Regions from separate parts of the Homo sapiens genome. Here regions 1 and 2 are each linked to region 3. Evidence: promoter capture Hi-C in 16 types of primary human blood cells and fetal thymus (Javierre and others, 2016). All regions are on one chromosome and are shown on one strand. Each heading gives the region's core, a stretch centred on a gene start or on the middle of the fragment in contact. The rest is flanking DNA. Distances are from core to core; before and after follow the strand shown.

Evidence for each region. The method cuts DNA at HindIII sites, captures the fragments that hold promoters and counts their contacts. A CHiCAGO score of 5 or more calls a contact.
Region 1: a fragment that was not itself captured here is called in contact with the fragment with the promoter of IFT70A in region 3 in 1 of 17 cell types (megakaryocytes); the score reaches 6.2 in megakaryocytes.
Region 2: a contact is called between a fragment that was not itself captured here and the fragment with the promoter of IFT70A in region 3, in 1 of 17 cell types (megakaryocytes). The highest score is 5.6, in megakaryocytes.

Annotation. Positions count from the first base shown.
Region 1 is chr2:177,720,972-177,724,655 of GRCh38, forward strand. All of the region lies in intron 12 of PDE11A (phosphodiesterase 11A), which reads right to left. It overlaps PDE11A-AS1 (PDE11A antisense RNA 1), which reads left to right. Exons shown (of 5, transcript NR_136171.1): 5 at 2,118-2,318. Among named protein-coding and RNA genes, the nearest start is that of PDE11A-AS1, 49 kb to the left of the region's middle. The HindIII fragment of the contact is 3,324 bases long and covers 1-3,221 here.
Region 2 is chr2:177,702,734-177,706,490 of GRCh38, forward strand. All of the region lies in intron 13 of PDE11A (phosphodiesterase 11A), which reads right to left. PDE11A-AS1 (PDE11A antisense RNA 1) reads left to right here. Exons shown (of 5, transcript NR_136171.1): 4 at 1-16. Among named protein-coding and RNA genes, the nearest start is that of PDE11A-AS1, 31 kb to the left of the region's middle. The HindIII fragment of the contact is 883 bases long and covers 1,877-2,759 here.
Region 3 is chr2:177,617,426-177,621,176 of GRCh38, forward strand. IFT70A (intraflagellar transport 70A) reads right to left here and starts at 1,317. Exons shown (of 1, transcript NM_152275.4): 1 at 1-1,317. The coding sequence starts at 1,276. IFT70A-AS1 (IFT70A antisense RNA 1) reads left to right here. Exons shown (of 3, transcript NR_198966.1): 2 at 1-95; 3 at 863-1,813. RefSeq lists an enhancer at 1,390-1,619. The HindIII fragment of the contact is 8,599 bases long and covers 141-3,751 here.

The sequences.
Region 1 (3,684 bases), core at 310-2,809, 100 kb after region 3:
AGTCTCAGAAAGGCAACACAGTCCAGTACAATTACATATGTTGCGTAGATGTTTGATGCATACATTTAAAAATTGGATTAATTTTATATATAACTTTATTATTATATTCTATTACATTTATAACCACTTCTAAGGCTTAATTTTTAACCTGTTTATTAGCATAAATTTCAAATTCTTTATTTTGGAGAGTTAAAAACATACAAAAAATAGAATACCATTAATATAATGAACCCAGTGCAGTCATTGCCTAACTTCAGCAGGAATCCAGGTTTTGCGGCTTGTTTCATCTGTCTCTTCACATGCAGTGTGTGTTTGTTTTGTTTTGTTTGCTAGCGTATTTCAAAGCAAACCTCTGGTATCTGTCAACACTATTTCATTCTCAAGAAGTCCTAATGTGGTCAAATAAAATTTGCTCAATATATTTCTGCTGTCTTATTTTGATAAAATGTACAAAAAGATATACAAATAATATAAGGAAATTTTCAACTAAATAATAAGACTTGAGAAAGTGGAGGTTTCTACATCAAAAGATAATAAATAAACATAGCTGTATGTATATAGCACATATAATGCATTTTAAAAGGAACCAAAAGAAAAATATCAGATTCTTAAGGACTTAGCTTTCAACCCTAACAATATTTGTGCTTTATGATTTTTTTTGAGGACAAGGACGGTATGTTTTGTCCATGTTTAGAAATATAATTTATATTTTATTTCTGATAAATTACCAGTGAACTGCATATAATATAACATATGGTTTATGACCACAGAAAATGAAGCAGATCACTTGCTGCACATTAATTGTGTAGAAAGACAGATCTCTCAAAGTGCCACAGAGCCCAGGTTGGTGAATTTCAAGAATTTGAGGCTTCTTCAAAGCTCAAATTTTTATTAGCCATAATTCAGCCGAAACTAAACTTGAGACCCATGAAAATTTAAAACTTTTTATAGCTCCCAACTTAACACCCTTAGGTGCCAGGTTTCAGTCCCAAGAAAGTGCCACTAGGAAATCATACACCGTGGAAAATGGAGGCTGTGATAAATGACCATGGCTCTGCTGCTGGGTCTCCCTGACCTGGAGGATTTGGCTGGCGTCATAAAACACAAAGCGACAGATTAAGCAGTTTACCAACATCATAAAAATCTCAAGAATAAATTCACTTTAATCAAAAATCCTATATTGTAACTAGGCAGCCCCAGCCTCGAAACCACATACATTTACGTATAAGCCTATGTCCGTGAGCAAGAGGTTATACTTTCCCTGTAACGTCGGACATGATTATGTTCATACACTTTTACAATTTACATGTCCTAAGAAAAATACCCAGCTCTGGCTGATGGTGCGGGAGAATTTATTTTCACTAGAAAGGGAATGACCCATAACTCATGAATGGCAGCGCTTAAAGTGAGTTATGGAGGTTACTCTCCTGTGAGAGGAAATGGATTGGATTATCCTTCTGCCCAATTGTATGTTTGGTTATTAGCACACCAGGTTCTTAATTATGTGCAGCTTTGCCTTTTTTCTTTTATAAAATAAATGTGGATAAAGGCAATGTCAGCTGGAAGCATGGAGTGCCTAATTGGGGCTCTGAGATGCAGTCAGAGAGAAGAAAAATAGAAACCTTTTTTAAATGATTAAAAGACAGGAGTCTTAAATGTAATTTAAACACAGTATTCAAATTGATTAGCCCCATAGTTAATTTATTGTGTCTGGTGCTGATGTTCTGCAAAAACATTTAAAAATTACTCCTTTTCTAAATTAAAAATTTGCCATCTTGTAGGTTACATTTGCATGAAGATTAAAGAGTTGGTTATTCTATCATGTAGATTTTATTATAGTATTACAATAATGCTGCCATTTATTTTAAAGTAAATATAACAAGTTACTACTTTTTTGATAAGGAAATACAATGTAAAAATGATGTTTGATGATTACAAATATGATTACTGTTTATTAATTTATTTCAGTCAGTTACAGAACAAAACATCTAGATCTCTCTGTAACTTCCAGTGTTACAGTCTACAAAGGAATTTGATTTCTGTTGAGATTAGGATTCTGATTATTGAGTAAAAATATTTTATTTAAAATTTCAATTGGTTCTGTATTTCTTGGACAGGGAGGGAGGAGTTTCAGCTGTGCTTCTAAGATCTTCCAGAATGAATTTTCTACCTCAAAAATCAAGGACTTTTCTGGAAACTGCAGTCAGAGGACAGAACATCAGCCTCAAGCTGGTAAATAGGATGGATTTTCTCCCTAAACATCCCTTCTGCTTTCTAGTTTGAATTATCAATAAAATGGTTTGGCTTATCTCTGAAAATAACCTTGTTGACAACACAAATATGGATTTAAACACGCTACCTCCACATTAAGATTTAAGAAGCCCCCAGTAAATGTCAGGGGGTGTCAATGTGTTTGCTGTGATACTTGGTTATTATTAGTGTTTAACTGCAATTCCCCACCAGCGCCACGCTGCCTGCACCACCATAAATTTTAATGTGATCATGTGCTCTTCTCTTTTCATATCCAGTGAATTCTGCAAGATCATAATATTCTATATGAACCCTAGCTGAACCTTAGTGTGATATGAAGAAAGAACAAGATTTCAAGCAATAATAGTTGTTCACCATTTTATAGCTTTTTTTAACTGGACACTGAGCAACATGGTTCCTTGAATAATATTACCCTAAACTAAATTCACTCATTCAATTAATCTTTATTGATACCCTACAGGATGCAGGGCATGGCTCAAAGTGCTAATGAGTACATTTATGGGATAGTAAAGAATACTGACTCTTAAAGAAATCTTTTTTTTTCCCCTTGGAAAATCTGTCAGAGCTCATACATCATTTATAAAACCGAAAAAAATGTCTCTGCAACCTTGGCACCACTACATGCCTTTTATTTTACAGAATACAAACAAAAGCAGAGTCATTTCCGATATCTAGTCTACATCGTGAATATAAGAAATATGTCCCTCATCTTTTATCATGTATTTATAGTTATAATTTATTTATTATGTATGTGCATGATGGAATATTTGTTCTATAAACTTCTATTAGTAAAGAAAATTTATATGATGATCATTCATCTGCAGGTTTTCTTCCTCATTTTAACCACAAATAATAACTGTCACTACCTACTGTATTTGTCAGAGGAATTCAAAGTATTTGGGAAATTTTAACTATCTAAATATCTTTTTAAAAACAAAGAATAACATTGAAGCTTTCAAATTTATAAATGTGAAATTTCAGACCAGAGGCATGGAACAAATTAATAAGTCATTAACAGGGTTCCCAGTGAATAAAATGTTCATCATTTTATATCAATTTGCCTGTCCTACACAGTAGTTCTTTTTTTTTTTAATTTCTAAAGGAACAAAACCGCTTTGTTACCTACACATGAACCTGAATACTTTTGCAAAACACAATGCTGAGTCAATAAGTTTATTTTCCACCCGTGAAGTGATTTTAGGGTTAAAGGTTAGGAAGCTGGGGCATATATTTATAATTTGCTTGTCCTGTTGTACGTGGTGCCAAAATTTGTTCAGCAGTGACACACAACTATGCATTTCCCCATTCCCAGAGACAATAGGCTTGGAAAAATACACAATCACAGATTTAAGGTCACACGGAGAACACTATTATTCACTTTAACAGCACGGTATGCAAGGTGGCAGTCATAAA
Region 2 (3,757 bases), core at 1,068-3,567, 86 kb after region 3:
TTTCCAGCAGGATTAGGTTCGGTAGGAATTATTGAATATAATATAATATAATGTAAAATATCGGAATTATTTTTCTTAGGTGCTTAGTAAGGAGGGTATTAGATTTTAATCATATATGTGTTATTTCTTTAAATCTTGCCTTAATTTATATTATTTAATAAGTGAAGATTTGCTAGGCGAATCTTAGTGATAAATTAATACTTAATGTTAGTTACTATTTGTCTTACATAGAGTTCATTTCTATGAAGACACGTGTTTCAAAACGTATACTATATGCCTTTGTCTTGGCTGTTGAAATTCTGTGATGCTTTATATGCATATCACATCCTAGAGCCTGGCATAGAGTAAGTGCTTTAAAAAATATTGGTTGCTTGTCTAATAAGCTTACAGTAGTTACTATGTCGAGAGATTACAGTTCAAGTTGGGAGGTTGATAATAAGTGTGTTAGCATATTTTATAATACTAATATTATTATTAATAAAGCTACCATTAGTATCTACCATGCGGTAGTCTATATATTAACAACTTAATACATTATAGCATTTAGTCCTGACAATGACCATGATATAAGTATTATTTTCTCATTTACACATGAGGAAAACAGGGCTCAGAGAAGTTAAGTAACTTTTCCAAGGTCACACAGCTAGCTTGTACCAGTTCCAGATTTGAATCCAAGTTTTTAAGCTTCTTGTTACATAATGAAAATGATAATTATAACATACATTTCTGACATTTGATTCTCCATTTTTACTAAGCTGATTGTTATCAATGAAAGAAGATTTCAAAATCTAATTCAGAATTCTATTAGTATCATTGCTAACCACAGGCTGATTCCTGTGATCATTCCTATGAATCAGCCATGCTCACATGCACCTCACTTACTAGTGTGAATCTTTTGTATCTAGTCAAGATACAAAATGTTATCTCTTCCCTTATTCATGTTGGGTTAACAGACTCCACAAAAGCTGCATCAGCTAGATGATCAGAAGTCACTCTGTATCTTCTTTGTTTTGGTGAATAAGGAATGTTTTCTCCTTTAAGGGAGTGGGGATGGGGACGATAACAACAGCTTTTAACAAATACACCATGGCTTCTGAGGCACTGCTCCTTCCTGTGCGTAGGATGGAGGCCTCTCTCCCATATCCATATGTCTCCGATCTGGTGTGTTCTATCTCCCAGTATTTGTGCAAAGGCAGCCACTGTCTATGGTTTGACCATCTTCCTCGTCAGATTCCCTCTTTGTTCTCTTTTGTAATTCCATCTTACTTTCTGCCCAGCCTCACACAATACTGATTCAATCACAGAAAATAGGTAGATTTTGCCACTGAACCAGACTAATGCCATGAAAGTGTGGGGAGACTTTGTTATTCATTCATTCATCTATCATTCATTCAACCAATAAGCATTGATAACTATTATGTCAGGCCCCAGGCATGTGGAATACAAAGAGAAATAAGACATGTTCTGACCTTCAGGAAGCTCACAATCCCCTATAATTGTGTCAGGAATTTTTCTCTGATCAACCTTGCACTAAAAATGCTCACTTTTCTGCAAACAAGGTGCCATCTTAGCCCTCAGAGAATGGAGCATGGTACTAACTCAACTTTGAGGGGTTTTTTTAAAGTAAAACCATCTAAGCAAGAATACTTCCATTTCCAAATGGATCCCTTATTTACACTATTAGATTTGGCCCCTGGCAGATTTTCTAGACTGCCAAAGCCCTCAGTGCCTTTTGTCTCAGGCCAAGGCCCATTAGGAATGCTGCCTGTATCTGCTGTTACACACTGGGAACTTCCTGGGACCACCAAGAGCCAAGTCTACAGTCTTGATATAAGTGGCAAAAAAAATAAATAAATAAAACATATCTGTGAAGATAAGCTTTATCAAAAAGTATTCTACAGAATACTAGTTCTTCTGAATGTTAAATGGCATTAAGAGAAGAAGTAAAAAGGGTTCCGTGGCCAAATAAGTTTGGAAAATGCTGGCTTTAAAAAGTGAATCTGTTTATTTATGGTAAGGATTTTCCAGAGGCGGCAATATGTGAAAATGCATTGTGATTTTGTGGGAGGGGAACATAACAAGCAGCATTATCTACTTTTAATTGATTGTGAAACCTCTTTTTTTTTGAGACGGAATCTCGCCTGTCACCCAGGCTGGAGTGCAATGGCGCGATGTTGGCTTACTGCAACCTCCACCTCCTGGGTTCAAGCGACTCTCTTGCCTCAGCCTCCCAAGTAGCTGGGATTACAGACATGCACCACCACGCTTAGCTAATTTTTTGTATCTTTAGTAAAGGCAAAGTTTCACCATGTTGGCCAGGCTGGTCTCGAACTCCTGACCTTGTGATCTGCCCGCCTCGGCCTCCCAAAGTGATGGGATTATAGGCATGAGCCACTGTGCCTGGCTGATTGTAAAACCATTTTTAAAGAGGTCATGTCTCTCACATAATACACTTCCACTTATAAAGGTATGCTTCTACTTTCTCACATAAAATATGAAAAAAAAACCCTGAGATCAATCACATATGGAAAAAATTGACTTTAACAGCACACCTCATTTTAATTGTTTGTGCTAAGTATATCCATCATATAAGTGTCTTTGGGGCACACATCCTTTAGTTGTGAAAATATGATTATATATACATAGGGTGTATGGAGAGAGGAAGAGAAGAGAATCCAAATTCCATAAGTACAAATACCTTTATACATGTAAGTATTCATGATGTGCATTATTGATGGTAGGTCATCTTAACATACTAAAGCTTTTCATTTTGGATAGGCAGCTCAATGAGGAGAAACTTATTAAAAAGAAAAGTCAAGGTGGAAATTTCCCTATAGGCATTTGGCACTTTGCACAGGCACCAAAAATGTGTGCAAATGTAAATGTACCTTCATAACTTCCCTAGATATGCATATTCTTTGAAAAAGAGACTGAATGGCAGTGTGCAGCTGTGACTTAAAGGAAACTTTAAAAAGGAAAACTATGAAAGGTAATTAGGAAATTGAGAGTTGTTGGGAGATGGTGAGGAATGGGATTAGGCTGTCATGGCAGATTAATGTGCCCCAGTATTTCACTTCTGGGACCTGGCCGAAAGCGACAAGATGGGTTTTCATTCCCAAGAAATGAGTATAAGAGATTATGCTAGAAATGAATAGAAGAAGTCTCCTAGGAGAATATACTACAAAGCTGCTTGGTACTGATATTTAATCATCAGGGGCAGCTGTAATAGAGAGAAGGATGAGTGGGGAACGCTGTCCCTAGAGAAAACAGGGGAGAGGTGTGAACAGAGCAATTTCAAAGCACTGTGGTATTGCTGCCCTCTCTACCTATTGATCATTCATTGTATGCACTCCAATACTTAAAAATTAAGAACAAAATATGAAAATGCGAAGGATCACTTGTCAGAAAGGCTAAGAGAATAAATCAAATTGTGCTCTAACGAAAGCCACACTTTTTATTGTAGAGGCATTTTGCATTTTATATAGTAATTTGTCCCTTGCTAAATGTCTCCTGTTTTTTTATAGCCTTATATATGAAAAAAAGGTAGCATATACTTTGCTGCATAATAATTGGTGCATTTAAATCCCATTTTCAAATCACTTCAAAGACTAGAATTCGACTGGGAGCACTTTAAGAGAAGGGATGTTTGCTATATCTCTTTATTTCTCCCACAATTCCTAGCACAGCATCTTGAATATAGAAAATACTCACTTACTGGGAAATAAAAAACAAGAAAAGAAGATAGGTTTCTTGCAAG
Region 3 (3,751 bases), core at 67-2,566:
CAGGAATGTATTTCTCCATGGTTTCATCATATTCATTCACTGCCTTTTTGATAGCTTCATCATCTCTGTTGTGTCTTGCTTCCTGTACTTGCTTGGTGAGTCTCCGAAGCTGCTCAGTCAGCATCCCTGCTAGCCCATCAAGCTTAATGAAAGCCTCTTCAGGAGCTGTCTGGCAAGTGATCAGGGCATCTAAGAAGTCATAGAGATAGGGTGTGAGGAACTTATACGTCAAATGGGCATTTTCTGCCAGGACATCTGCTGCCAGGTCAAAATACTCATATTTACAGTAGAGCAGCAACAGGTTGCCAAAAGTCTCTGGAGGAAAGGGATTCTGTTGGAGCAAAAACTGTAGCTTTTCAAACCCTTCTGTAGGCCTGGCATCCATGTTCATTAGTGCCTGGTTGTGCAGGGTCACAGGGTCCAACTCTTCCTCTGCCCTGGGTGGCATGTCGGTGAGGGTTTCTTGAGCTACCTCATAGTTTCTCAGTTGGTATTCTATGGCTGCCTTAAGGTTGAAGGCTTCCACCAGAGCAGTCTGATGGAGAACTAAGGTGTTGCCAACACTGCGAACATCAAAGCCCTCGGTGGTCATGCCCACACCTAGCTCAGGATGCTGGCGGATGCCACGCTCAATAATCTCAGCGATATGCTTCAGTGCTGAGGCATACTGTCGGCTGCTGTAATAGGCCAAAGCCAGGTTGTAGGAAAGGTCAGGCTGGTAGCCCGAGGCCTGCAGTGTGGCAGAAAACTTGGAGCATGCAGCTTCATACTGTCCCTCCTTGTAGAGCAAACAACCCAGGTTGACCTGGCCATCGGTCTCATTGTCGCCTCCACTTTCTTCTCCCCCTTCCCCACTCAGCAGCTGCTCCACCAGGCTCCTGGACCCTGGCAGATCGCCCTCGCTATACTTGATGGCAGCTTGCAGGCGGAGGACCCGGCTGTGGTAGGCGGGGTTATCCAGGAGAAGGAAGGCGACCCGAGTGGCCTCCGGATAAAGGCAGGCCTTGTACAGGGCCTGGGCCTGGTACAGGCGGTACTGCTCCAGTTCCGGGTGCAGCTGGCCCAGCTGCTCATAGCACTCGGCCGCCAGCGCGAACTCCTGCAGGCGGTAGTAGCAGTAGCCTAGCAGCGACAGGCCGGCACGGCTCCTGGGGCTCCGCTGCAGTTCTCGGCCCAGCAGCTGCACCGCCTCGGCGTAGCGGGCATCGCGGATGAGCCGGTACACTAGCGCGGTAAACTCCCCGTCGGGGATCTGCGCGCCGCTCAGACCAGCCATAACCACCACGGCTGTTATGCGTGCGGTTACCACGGCAACAGGGCAACCGGGCAACCGGAAACGGAAGACGACGGGTTACTTTGCCACGGAAGGAATCTGTTAGGAATAAAAAGGGACCGTTCTCGTTAGTCTCTCAAGTTCGGTTTGATCTTCAAATATTCTGGACTGCAGCGTGGCGGCAGTCAGAAGGGGAAAGACGACTACTCCGGGCCGTTCAGAGACTGAATCTTCCCGGTCCCGGCATGCATCGTTCCTGTGGCGCCGCTGCGCAGGCGTGGCCGCACTGCATGCTGGGAGGCGTAGTCCCTGTTGCACCGACCCGACTCGCGGCCCGTGTGGACGCACGGTCACTCGCCTTCCCTGCCCCCTAAAGATGAGGGGCACTCTCTGTGTCTGTTGTGCCACCTCGGTCTCTAGCGAATCGGAGGAAGATTTCCGGCACCATGTTCTGGCGATTTTGAGCCTTGTGCATTGGTGTGGTCTATACTAATGCTGGCGTTTGGCTTACTTTTAATAAAGTAGAGATCGTCAGTACAATAAAAGGACCTTTTAATAAAAGGAGCGGGATGGCAAAAGGGAGTTAACTCCTTGAATTCCCTTGGAATTAGAGCAGGTTCTTATGCTACCCCGAGGGCACAGTTTGTAAGAACAGAATACAGCAGCAAACAGAAATCCTTCTTATTTTGGTGGTTTCCAGAGGTTAATAAGGAAAAAGTGCTGTGAATCTTAATTGGTACTGGGAGAGGATCTGTTTTTGATCGCAGTATCTCTCCTTTTCCATGACAAAAAAAAAATTACTGAGTATATGTTGGCGTTTACACTTGGTTGTATCCATTGCTGTGGTCCTCCAACTGTCTCTGCCAATAAGAAATCAGTATCTTTTGTCATCTCCCATGATATCCATTGGTCTCTCTAGCACCTAATATAAACCTAATCCAAGTAAAAGTGTGTTGTTTGCTACATAATTACTGCAAATCCTTTGTATGCATCCATAATAGTGTTACTGCCCATAAATCTTTTCTGTATATAAACTTCACAGCTATCATACGGTTGATAACGATGTCAACCATATCATATAGCACCTCTATTAGAGACTGTTTACATATAGTATTTCTAATTTGAATAAGCAGCCTGCATTCTGCATATTGTAGTTTAAGAAGTCTGTGGGCTAGAAAGGTTTAAAGATTTAAGTATTACATTAATTAAATCAAACTATTAAATTAATAGTTTGTTTAAAGCCACATCTAGGTAGGTAGGGGCTGAACCATGATATCCAATAACCAATTTCAATAGGAAATAGTGACTGATGAATAACCCAATCCATGTATCTCATGTACGTGAGTTTGTAAGGGCCCATTGTTTGGTGCTAAGTGTGTATAAGGAATATTATTGTCTTTGTTTCTCCATTAAAACAATGAACTAACTTTGTGTAGTTAGTAAACTTTGAACTTCTAGGCCTTGATTCCAGCTGTGAGCAGATGTGACTACTGGAGTTGTGTAGTTCGTATTTACCCAGTATCACTGGAAGGAGATTTTTAGTAGGTGTGTGATTGCTCATATCATCATATGACTGACTTTATGTACTTACTCAGTCTTCTCCCTTGCCAGGAATTGGCAGAGTTGGGTCTTTTTGGCTGGAACTAGACAAGGAGCTTCCCAGTGCATCAATTCCAAGAAAGGGAAACTGCACCCATTTCAGGATTGAATGGGACTTTGGCTCACCTAAGACCCCACAGAAAGCAACTGTGGAATATTACTATAACTCTATTCTGAGGCTTCTTTCAATCTGATCTCTTGGTGCACCCTTTTAGAGTCTTAAGCCCAAGGAGGTACATGGGTAGAGGATACTGCTCAGTAATAAATTGGGGGAAGGGGTGCATCGACTTCTTTACAGCAGGCTGCCTGATGGTTCTCCCTTGGGAATTTAGGCTCAGTATTTTATTTATTTATTTTTTAGAGACAGGGCTTTGTTCTGTTGCTCAGGCTGACATGCAGTGGCATGATCATAGTTCACTGCAGCCTTGAACTCCTGGGCTTAAGTGATCCTCATGCTTCAGCCTCCTGAGTAGCTGGGACTACAGGTGCACAACCATGCCTGGCTAATCTTTTTTAAAAAATGTTTTAATGGAGATAGGGTCTCACCATGTTGCCCAGGCTCATCTCGAACTCCTGGCCTCAAGCAACCCTCCCACTTTGGCCTTCCAAAGTGCTGGGATTACAGGTGTGAGCCACTGTGCCTCGCAAGGCTCAGTATTTTAAAATTCTTATATATGTACTGTTACCTTAGGTAATTTGCTATTAAATTAAGGTGAGATGACAACATGGGAATGGGAAATTGCCCTTCATTAGTCTTTCTCTCTGTTTTGCAGAGTTGTATTTACATCATCTTCAAATGGCTTCTTGAAAATGTATGAAAATAAAAGGACTATATTCTCCTCCAAATTTCTGGGATCCCTACCAGGATTCAGTTGGGGT